Regions from separate parts of the Homo sapiens genome. Here region 1 is linked to region 2. Evidence: promoter capture Hi-C in 16 types of primary human blood cells and fetal thymus (Javierre and others, 2016). All regions are on one chromosome and are shown on one strand. Each heading gives the region's core, a stretch centred on a gene start or on the middle of the fragment in contact. The rest is flanking DNA. Distances are from core to core; before and after follow the strand shown.

Region 1 (4,659 bases), core at 1,808-4,307, 270 kb before region 2:
TCCTGGCAGGTGGGAAACCTGAAATCAGGAATTACACTTAATGACACGGGGTGCTCTTCTCTCCTGAGCAAGCAGTTCTCTGGGGTGGTCCTAGAGAGATGGGAGAACATGTAAAGCAGAGATACTCAAATTTCAGCGTGCTCAAAATCTCCTGGAGGGCCTGCAAAAATGCAGATGGGTCCAGGCTCAGTGGCTCAAGCCTGTAATCCCAGCACTTTAGGAAGCTGAGGCTGGAGGATCACTTGAAGCCAGGAGTTCGAGACCAGCCTGGCCAACATGGTGAAAGCCCGTCTCTACTAAAAATACAAAAATTAGCTGGGTGTGGTGGTGCACACGTGTAGTCCCAGCTACTCGGGAGGTTGAGGCACGAGAATTGCTTGAACCTGGGAGGCAGAAGCTGAGGTGAGCTGAGACCTTGCCACTGCACTCTAGCCTGGGTGACAGAATGAGACTCTGTCTCAAAAAAAATTAAATAAATAAAAATAAAATGCAGATGAGGCTGGGCGTGGTGGAGCATGCCTATAATCCCAGTGGTTTACGAGGCTGAGACGGGAGGATTACTTGAGGCCAGGAATTCAAGGCTGCAGTGACCTATGATGGCACCACTGCACTGCAGCCTGGGTGACACAGTGAGACGATGTCTGTAAAACAAATAAACAAATAAACTGCAGATAGCTGGGCCTCCAGAATTTCTGATTCCACAGGTGCAAGGCGGGGCCCTTGACCTTGCATTTTGAGCAAGCTGCAGTCCTGTGGAGGACTGGTTGTGAAGCTGACACCATTGTCTGAGGGCAGCAAAGGCTCTTGGATGGATTGAGCCTCAGCTCCCATCTATGAGAGCTTTAAGCTTTAAGTGAGAGCTCCCCATGGCCGAGAGCTTCATTCTGAATTCCTGCTGCTAGGAATTCAAAACTCACATTGAAGTCCTAACGCCTAGTAGCTCAGAATGTGACCTTAGTTGGAGGCAGGGTCTTCACAGAGGTAATCAAGTTAAAATGAGACGGGAGAATCCTAATCCAATATAACTGGTTTCCTAAATCTGACAGGGTACAGTGACTCACACCTGTAATCCCAGCAGTTTGGGAGGCCAACACAGGAGGACTGCTTGAGATCAGGAATTCAAGACCAGCCTGGGCAATATAGTGAGACCCTGTCTCTAGCAAAAAAAAAAAAAAAAAAAAAAGTGCCAGTAGTCCCAGTTACTATTGAGAGGCTGAAGCAAGAGAGTCGCTTGAATCTGGAGGGTGGAGGTGGCAGTAAGGTATGATTGCACCACTGCATTCCAGCCTAAATGACAAAGCAATACTATGTCTCAAACATAAATAAATAAATAAATAAATAAATAAATAAATAAATAAACGGCAAATCTGGGCAGGGGTGAATACAGGGGGAAGGGAATGTGAAGATGAAGATGCCATACAGAGAAAGGCCCGGAACAGATCCTCACACCCCTCAGAAGGAACCAACACTGCCAGCACTTGATCTTGTTGATCTTGGAATTCAAGCTCAATTCTGGCAGGGTTTTTTGTTTGTTTGTTTGTTTGTTTGTTTGAGTCGGAGTCTTGCTCTGTTGCCCAGCCTGGAGTGCAGTGGCGCAATCTCCGCTCACTGCCAGCCCCGCCTCCCGGGTTCACGCCATTCTCCTGCCTCAGCCTCCTGAGTAGCTGGGACTACAGGCGCCTGCCACCATGCCCGGCTAATTTTTTGTATTTTTAGTAGAGACAGGGTTTCACCGTGTTAGCCATGATGGTCTCGATCTCCTGACCTCGTGATCTGCCCGCCTTGGCCTCCCAAAGCACTGGGAGTACAGGTGTGAGCCACCGTGCATGGCCTCAATTCCGGTTTTTAAGCCACCCAGTTTGTGAAACTTTGTTGTAACAGCCCTGGAAAACTGATACACCTGCTCTCTCGTAAAAGATCAGCTGATACGGCAGCACCGGCCACTGGATCTGCGGGTCAGTTGTCCCCTTAGACAGGGCACCTGCCCGCCAGTCACAGGTCCTGTCACCCAGCCCCTTCCTCTCATGGGCTCCAGCCGCCTCGCTCCCACAGGTCTCCTGGAGACCCGAGTTGCTGATGTCAGCGACTATTGCGAGTGCTCCTGTGGGACACTGTCCTCTCCCCAGCAACAGCCTTCAGTTCACACCCAGGGAGGAGATGGAGCCCCACACTGCACCAGCACACGACTCCAGCTCCAACTAGGTGGGTGTTGATGCTGAAGGCTGTGACATGCAAATACCCCCCAGGATCTCCTTGTCACCCCGACCACCACCACCAAAGCCCAGGCACCAGGCCCCTCTCTTCTCCAGGACCCAGGCATTCAAGCCCCGCCCGACTCTCAATGGTCCTTTGTCCCGGACTGGGAAAGGCACGGGCAGAGTCTGACATCATGAAGCCTGGGGTGGGGGTGGGACTCCCCCTCCCCCTCCAACTCCCCCCCAGCCCCACAACGCTTCTCTCCCTGGTCTGAGGGATTTCCCCGCCCCTCACCCCCTGGGTTCTCCCTTGAGAGCGAGGACCCCCCCTCCCCACTGCTCTGGCCTGAAGGAGGACAGGAGATGTCCCAGTGAGGCTGAACAGCTCATGGTGAAATCACTGCTGCACTTTGTCACGCCACCTCCAGCTGCCCCGAGCCCCCACCCACCTTGCAAAAGTCATGACCAAGGGGTGGAATCTGCACTCAGAGGGTCCTTGCCCAACTTGGTCAGCACAGTCCTATGTGCACCAAGCACTGCCCCGGGGACAGAAGGGTGCACATGACAGACAGAGAGGCAGATAGGTTTCTGGTGAGCCCCTGCCTCTGAGAGCTCCTGGGTTAGTGGGAGGCAGAGGCGGGCAGACCTAGGGTGCACACGGGCCAGCCTGCCAAGGCTACAGAAGGAAAGGACAGCATTGCAATGGAGGGGCCTGGCTGATGGGCGAAGATGGGAAAGCTTCCCAGGGAAGCGGCACCCAGGCTGCTGAGCCTACAGGATGGGTGAACGGCAGCCAGTGCCAGAGTGGGGAGTGCTATGGGGTGGGGACTGCTTTCCAGGAAGAATGAGCAGCAGGTGCACAGGCCTTGAGTCTGAAGGTGCCCTGGGGCTCTGGGGAACACATTCAACCACCCACACTGTTTATTAAGCTCAACTGCCTGCCAGGAGCTTGTCTACGAGCAAGGATGGATTGAGAATATCCAAGACGAAGCTTCTGGCCTGGTGGAGGTCACGTTCTCATGAAAGGAGTTGGTGAACACGGAAGGTCATTTCAGATGGCAAGAGGAGGTGACACTGACGTTGAGGGTGGAAAGGACCTGTCTCCTCCTGCTGCCCACCTAATGTTGCCACCAAGATTCCCTGAGGACAATGCCTCTGTCCCTCAGCCTGGGACTTCCAAAGAGATTAGACTGCCCCCCCACCCCCGGGACCCAGAATCAGGGTGTACAGGGATGGAAGATGGGGAGAGAGCAAGGCAGCCACTCCCGACCCCTCCAGGAAAGAGCTAGGAGAACCCAGGCGTCAGGCTGCCCAGTCCGAGCCCCGTGGTGACAAGGGCCCCTTTGTGCCCCCCTCCCCCGGGGGTAGGGAGGAGCTGGGCCCTGGAGGCAGGCGGCCCCTGGCACCCAGGGGGAGGGGAGGGGCTGGCAAGTGGGGGCCTAGACCCTGGAAGGCAGGGGACTGCGAGCTGGGCTGGCGGAGCAGAGGTGCAGAAGCAACTGAGTCCAAGTGAGTATGGTGGCAGGGAGGCCAGGGCAAGGGGAGCAGGGCACCGGGGCAGTGGCACCCAGACGTGAGCAGGGTCAGGTGCTCTGGGTGAGGGAGCATCGCTGTGCACCGCTACTGATTTAGGATGCAGGAGTGTGTGGCTTGGGGCTGCTTTGGGGATGGGCTCGGACCATCGCTGGGGCAGCGATGGGGCTCTGGGAAGAAACCACAGAGAGAAAAAACAAAGGGCCCCCCCTCAGCACCCCTTGTGGGTGAAGATTTTGCAGGAGAGGTTTCCTTGGGGTTCCCGAGTGCGGGGCAGATGGGGTGGAGGAGGTCTGCATCTGGCCGAAGAATGGAAGGATGTCCAGGTGATCAGACACCTGCAGGCTGCAATCTGGGAGGTGGATGGGGGCAGTGGGCTGTTAGTGACTGCATTCTAGCACCTGGGCACATAGCAGGTGTGTGTGTGTGTGTGTGTGCGTGTGCGTGCACACACATGGCTGCCCATGCACCTTCCTCTGTAAGCCTCAGTCGACTTTTCTTCATTAATCCCCACTAAGGACACTTTTTATTTTTCGTTACTTTTTTTTTTTTAAGAGACGGGACTCTCACTATATTGCCCAGGCTGGTCTCAAACTTCTGGGCACAAGAGATTCTCCCAACTTGGCCTTCCAAAGTGCTGGGTTTACAGGCGTGAGCCACTGCGCCCGGCCCCAACTACAGAAACTTTTTAGATGCATTTGTCCTCATCCCATCCTTCCCTTGGCATTTTAATCCAACAGATCTGCTGTACATATGTTTATGGACTGTGGCCACACACACTGTAATAGCTGAGGTTGATTTGGCCCCCATCCCGAGAACTTGTTTTCCCCGCTGTTAAGAGTGCATGGTCTACCTGCTTGTTTCATGTCTGCCCGGGCACGTGCTCATCCTCATCTGCATCTCTCTCCTGTACCTTCCTGTCACAGGTGCA
Region 2 (4,444 bases), core at 792-3,291:
GTCCCTTGCCCTCATCTCTGCCATATGTCCAATGTCCCTTGCCCTGCACCTCCATTTCCTCTCTGTCTCTGTGCTTCTATGTCTCATGTTTTGTGTCTCTCTATGTGCTGTGTCCTGAGGCTTGGGTCCCTGCCCTGGTGTCCTATGTCTGAGTCCCAGGGTCTCCTATTCCCCGTGCCTCAGTCTGTCCTGTGTCTGCACTGCATGTCCTCTGCTTCCAAGTCCCATCTCTTTTTTTTTTTTTTTTTTTTTTTTTTAAGATGCAGTCTCGCTCTGTCGCCCAGGCTGGAGTGCAGTGGCATGGTCTTGGCTCACTGCAACATCCACCTCCTGGGTTCAAATGATTCTCCTGCCTCAGCCTCCCAAGTAACTGGGATTACAGGTGCCCGCCACCATGTCTGGCTAATTTTTGTAATTTTAGTAGAGATGGGGTTTTGCCATGTTGGCCAGGCTGGTCTCGAACTCCTGACCTCAGGTGATCTGCCCGCCTCGGCCTCCCAAAGTGCTGGGATTACAGGCATGGGATTACACGCCCGGCCTCCAAATCCCATCTCTTACGTATCACATTGCCATACTCTTTATGCCCCCACCTATGTCCCCATACCCAAGATTCACCCCAGTGTCCCTGTGTCCTGTGTCCTTGGGTCTGCCCCATCCATATCCCAATGTCCTTCACCCTCCATGACCCCTGTCTTGAGACTGCCTTTCGTGTTCGTCTATCCCCATCCTTCTCTGCCCCTCTTGTCCCAAGTCCCAGGCTCAGTGTCTTCCATCCCCAGGTCCCCATGTCCTGAGCCTGTCCCCACAACATGGCTCACATTGTCGTCGGTGGTGAGGTCCCCCTCACTAGCCTGGATGGCAAAGGCGATGAGGCAGATGGCGGCGGCAACCCACATGAGGCACTGCAGGCCCCCGGCCAGCTGCCTCGCGAACTTGACGTACTCTGGGGTGCCCCGTGGTGGCCGCAGTGCGTTGGGCCCATCCCGCAGCAGCAGCTCAGCAGCCAGGCTCGCAGAGAGGCCCTGGGACAGAGGGGCAGGGCGAGGCGGTCCTGGGGGCTTTCCTCCACATGCACACCCCGTGGAAAGCCCCCTGCTTCAGTTTCCCTTCTCCAGCTTGGTCTGTCCTGCTCCTTCTCATCTCTTTGTCTCTTGGTTCCTGCCCCCACCCCATCTCTCCCTCCCTCCTTCATCTCTCCCTTTGTCTCTCTCTCCTCGCTCCCCTTTCTATGTGTCTCTCTCCTGCTGCTCTCTCCTTATTTGTCTCTGCCTTCTCTGTCTTGCTGTCTCTTTTCAGCTACTCCTCTCTCCGTCTCTGTGTGTCACCCTTTCTCTCTAATGCTTTCTCCCTTCTCTCCCTCTCCCTCTCTCTCCCTCTCTCCATCTCCCTCCCTCTCTCCTCCCCTCCCTCCATCCTTTCCTCTCTCCCTCCCTCCCTCTTTCCTTTTCTGCCTCCCTCCCTCTCTCTATTTCTCCATATCTTCCTCTCTTCATCTCTCCCTCTCTCTCCCTCTCTCCATCTCCCTCCTTCCATCTCCCTCTCCCTCCCTCTCTCCTCCTCCCCTTTCTGTACGCTCCCAGTCTCCAGCTCACCTTGGTGGCACTGGTCTGGTATTTCTGTTCCAGCTCCGCCACTGACAGCTGGTGGTCGTTCTGTGTGGTGGGGTGGGGCAGGGTGCTTGCTCTGGGCTCTCCTGGCCCCCTCCCCGCCCACTGCCTGGTTCCCAGCCTACCCTCCAGCTCCCGCCCCTCCCCAGTCAGAGCTCACAATCTCCATCTCCTTCTTCATGTTCTCCAGCTTCTCCTTCCTCTTGCCACCCCCGCCACCCGCCTTCTTCTTCTTGCTCATCTTGGCAGCCATGTCCCCGCCAGGGCCAGGACCCAGCTCCACCGAGTAGAGCTCATAGTTCTCCTGGGAATGGACAGGATGGAGGGAGGGAGAACTCAGATTCCACTGCAACCCCTGTCCCCACTGCACCCCGGACCCCTGGGCCCCACTCACGGCCTTCCCCATGGTGCCCGGTGCCTGTGCTCCCACCCAACAGAGCCTGGGCCCGGACCAGTCCTGATATACCCAGGGAGGGCGGTGGGGTGGAGCAGAACCGCCCGACCACAGCTGATTACAGGCTCCTTGGGGTGACCTCTAGGCCTGGGCACCTCAGGCATTCCCTCCTGGGCTGGCCCCCCCCTCCCCTGCCCAGATCCCCCCATGTCAACCTGCCCTGAGATCAGGGAGCCCCTGGGAACCGCTGCAGCAACAAGAAGAGCAAACATAAGGTGCTCATTATGCGCTGGGCATTGTGCTGACGGCTTCCATGTGCTAACTTATTTAACCTTCCAATAACCCTTTGAGGGGACAAGACCCTTTACAGATGGGGAAACTGAGGCATGGAGGGGTTGAGTCATTCTCCTATGGCTCCATCACAGGCTAGGACATAATGGAGTGAGAACCAGATCAGCTGGCTGCAGAGTGTCCTCTTTCAGTCTAAATAGCACGTGCCTGATCAACTGGAAGAGGAGGGTGCTCCCACACTCTTTTTTTTTTTCTTTTTTTTTTTGAGATGGAGTGTCACTCTGACACCCAGGTTGGAGTGCAGTGGTGCAATCTCAGCTCGCTGCAACCTCCGCCTCCCGGGTTCAAGTGATTCTCCTGCCTCAGCCTCTTGAGTAGCTGGGACTACAGGCACATGCCACCACACCCAGCTAATTTTTGTACTTTTAGTAGAGACGGGGTTTCACCAGGTTGGCCAGGCTGGTCTCGAACTCCTGACCTCAGGTGATCCACCCGCCTTGGCCTCCCAAAGTGCTGGGATTACAGGCGTGAGCCACCATGCCCTGCCATGCTTACAACACTCTCTATGGTGGCTGAATGTTTACTGAACTCTGACTATTCACTATGGGCTGGGTGTGCTCTGTGTGTCACTCAAATGGTTTCCTTAGCATCTAACAGCAGCCCTGTAAAGCAATATTCTCTTCTTAGCCCCCATCAGGGACTTTGCAGAAGATTTCAACGTCTAAGAATTAGGGACAGGGTTCCAGCCCGGGCTTGACCCCAGGGCTTGACCCCAGAGCCTAGCTCTTCTATGGCACCACCAATGGAAAAACCCAAACTTCACTGCAGCAGCACCACACACATGCCAGGCTCTGCACGTGTGACCTCACGGGTCTTTGCAAAAAACCCTGTGCAGGCAGAACTATCATTCCTGTTGTGCAGAGGGGGAAACTGAGGCTCACAGGGACTCACATATCCAGCTACAGACTTTACAGCTCTCAACCATTCCCCGTCCCTACCCTAGATGGGGAAACCAAGGTGCAACATGGGGAAAGGATGTGTCCAAGGGTCTTGGCTTGATCTTGGTGTTGGGTGACAGATGCCAGGAGGCCTGGGGACTCCCTCCTCATCCCTCAGGTAGGGACCTCCATGGGCAGCAGCAGCGAGGGGCTGGGCCAGTGGAATGGTGGGGACCTTGGTATGTTATGGGGTGAGCGTGTCTCCAGGAGCAGGTGAGCGTGCGCCTGATAAGATAACTGCCCTGGCAATGTCCTTCTCTACTGGGGCAGGTCACCTGGGAAACTCAAAGCTGTTGGGCAGCCAGAGCTCCTCCCCGCACCCACACGGCTGGTCATCCCCAGCCTGCTAGAAGAAACCTCCAAAGAAGAGGTGGCGTGGGGCCACATGCTGTCCTTGTAGTGAATCTACTCGCTCACTGGGCTCCCATCAGCTCTGAGCCATGTATGTCAAACAGCTTGTGTCACCCCCTGCTTACAACCCTCCAAAGCCTTCCCTTCCCACTCAGAATAAACTCTGCACTCCTTCCTGCAACATCTGGCCCTGGTCACCTGTCCTGCCTCTGTTGCTGCTAGGTTTCCAGGGGCACTGACCTCTCTGCTGCACTTTGCACAGACCAAGGTCGTTCCTGCTTCAGGACCTTGGTACTTACAGTTCCTTCTGCCTGGGCCCCCTTCCTTAGATGTCTGCACTGGCTTTCTCACCTCTTTCAGGTCTCAGCTCAAATGTCACCTCTTCAGAGAGTCCATTCTGTAATACTGCACACTGTGTTCTGTTCCTTTACCCCACTGTATTTACACCTCCTACTCCAACCTGACACTGTGTTTTCTTTTTATTTGTTTGGTGTTCATTAGAAGGAGGACTGGGCCGGACACTGTGACTCACATCTGTAATCCCAGCACTCTGGAAGGCTGAGGTGGACGGATCATGAGGTCAGGAGTTCGAGACCAGCCTGGTCAACATGGTGAAACCCTGTCTCTACTAAAAATACAAAAATTAGCTGGATGTGGTGGTGTGTGCCTGTAATCCCAGCTACCAGGGAGGCCGAGGCAGGAGAATCACTTGAACCTGGGAGGTGAAAGTTGCAGTGAGCCGAGATCATGCCACTGCACTCCAGCCTGGGTGACAGAGTGAGACTCTGTCTCAAAAAAAAAAA

The links. Contacts are between HindIII fragments. The CHiCAGO score rates a contact against its expected background, and 5 or more counts as called.
Region 1: a contact is called between a fragment that was not itself captured here and the fragment with the promoter of ATP4A in region 2, in 1 of 17 cell types (erythroblasts). The highest score is 5.5, in erythroblasts.

Annotation. Positions count from the first base shown.
Region 1 is chr19:35,288,501-35,293,159 of GRCh38, forward strand. It overlaps MAG (myelin associated glycoprotein), which reads left to right and starts at 3,661. Exons shown (of 11, transcript NM_002361.4): 1 at 3,661-3,704. The HindIII fragment of the contact is 253 bases long and covers 2,932-3,184 here.
Region 2 is chr19:35,561,617-35,566,060 of GRCh38, forward strand. ATP4A (ATPase H+/K+ transporting subunit alpha) reads right to left here and starts at 2,042. Exons shown (of 22, transcript NM_000704.3): 1 at 2,002-2,042; 2 at 1,768-1,911; 3 at 1,593-1,652; 4 at 819-1,022. The coding sequence starts at 2,013. RefSeq lists an enhancer at 3,197-3,698. The HindIII fragment of the contact is 9,853 bases long and covers 1-4,444 here.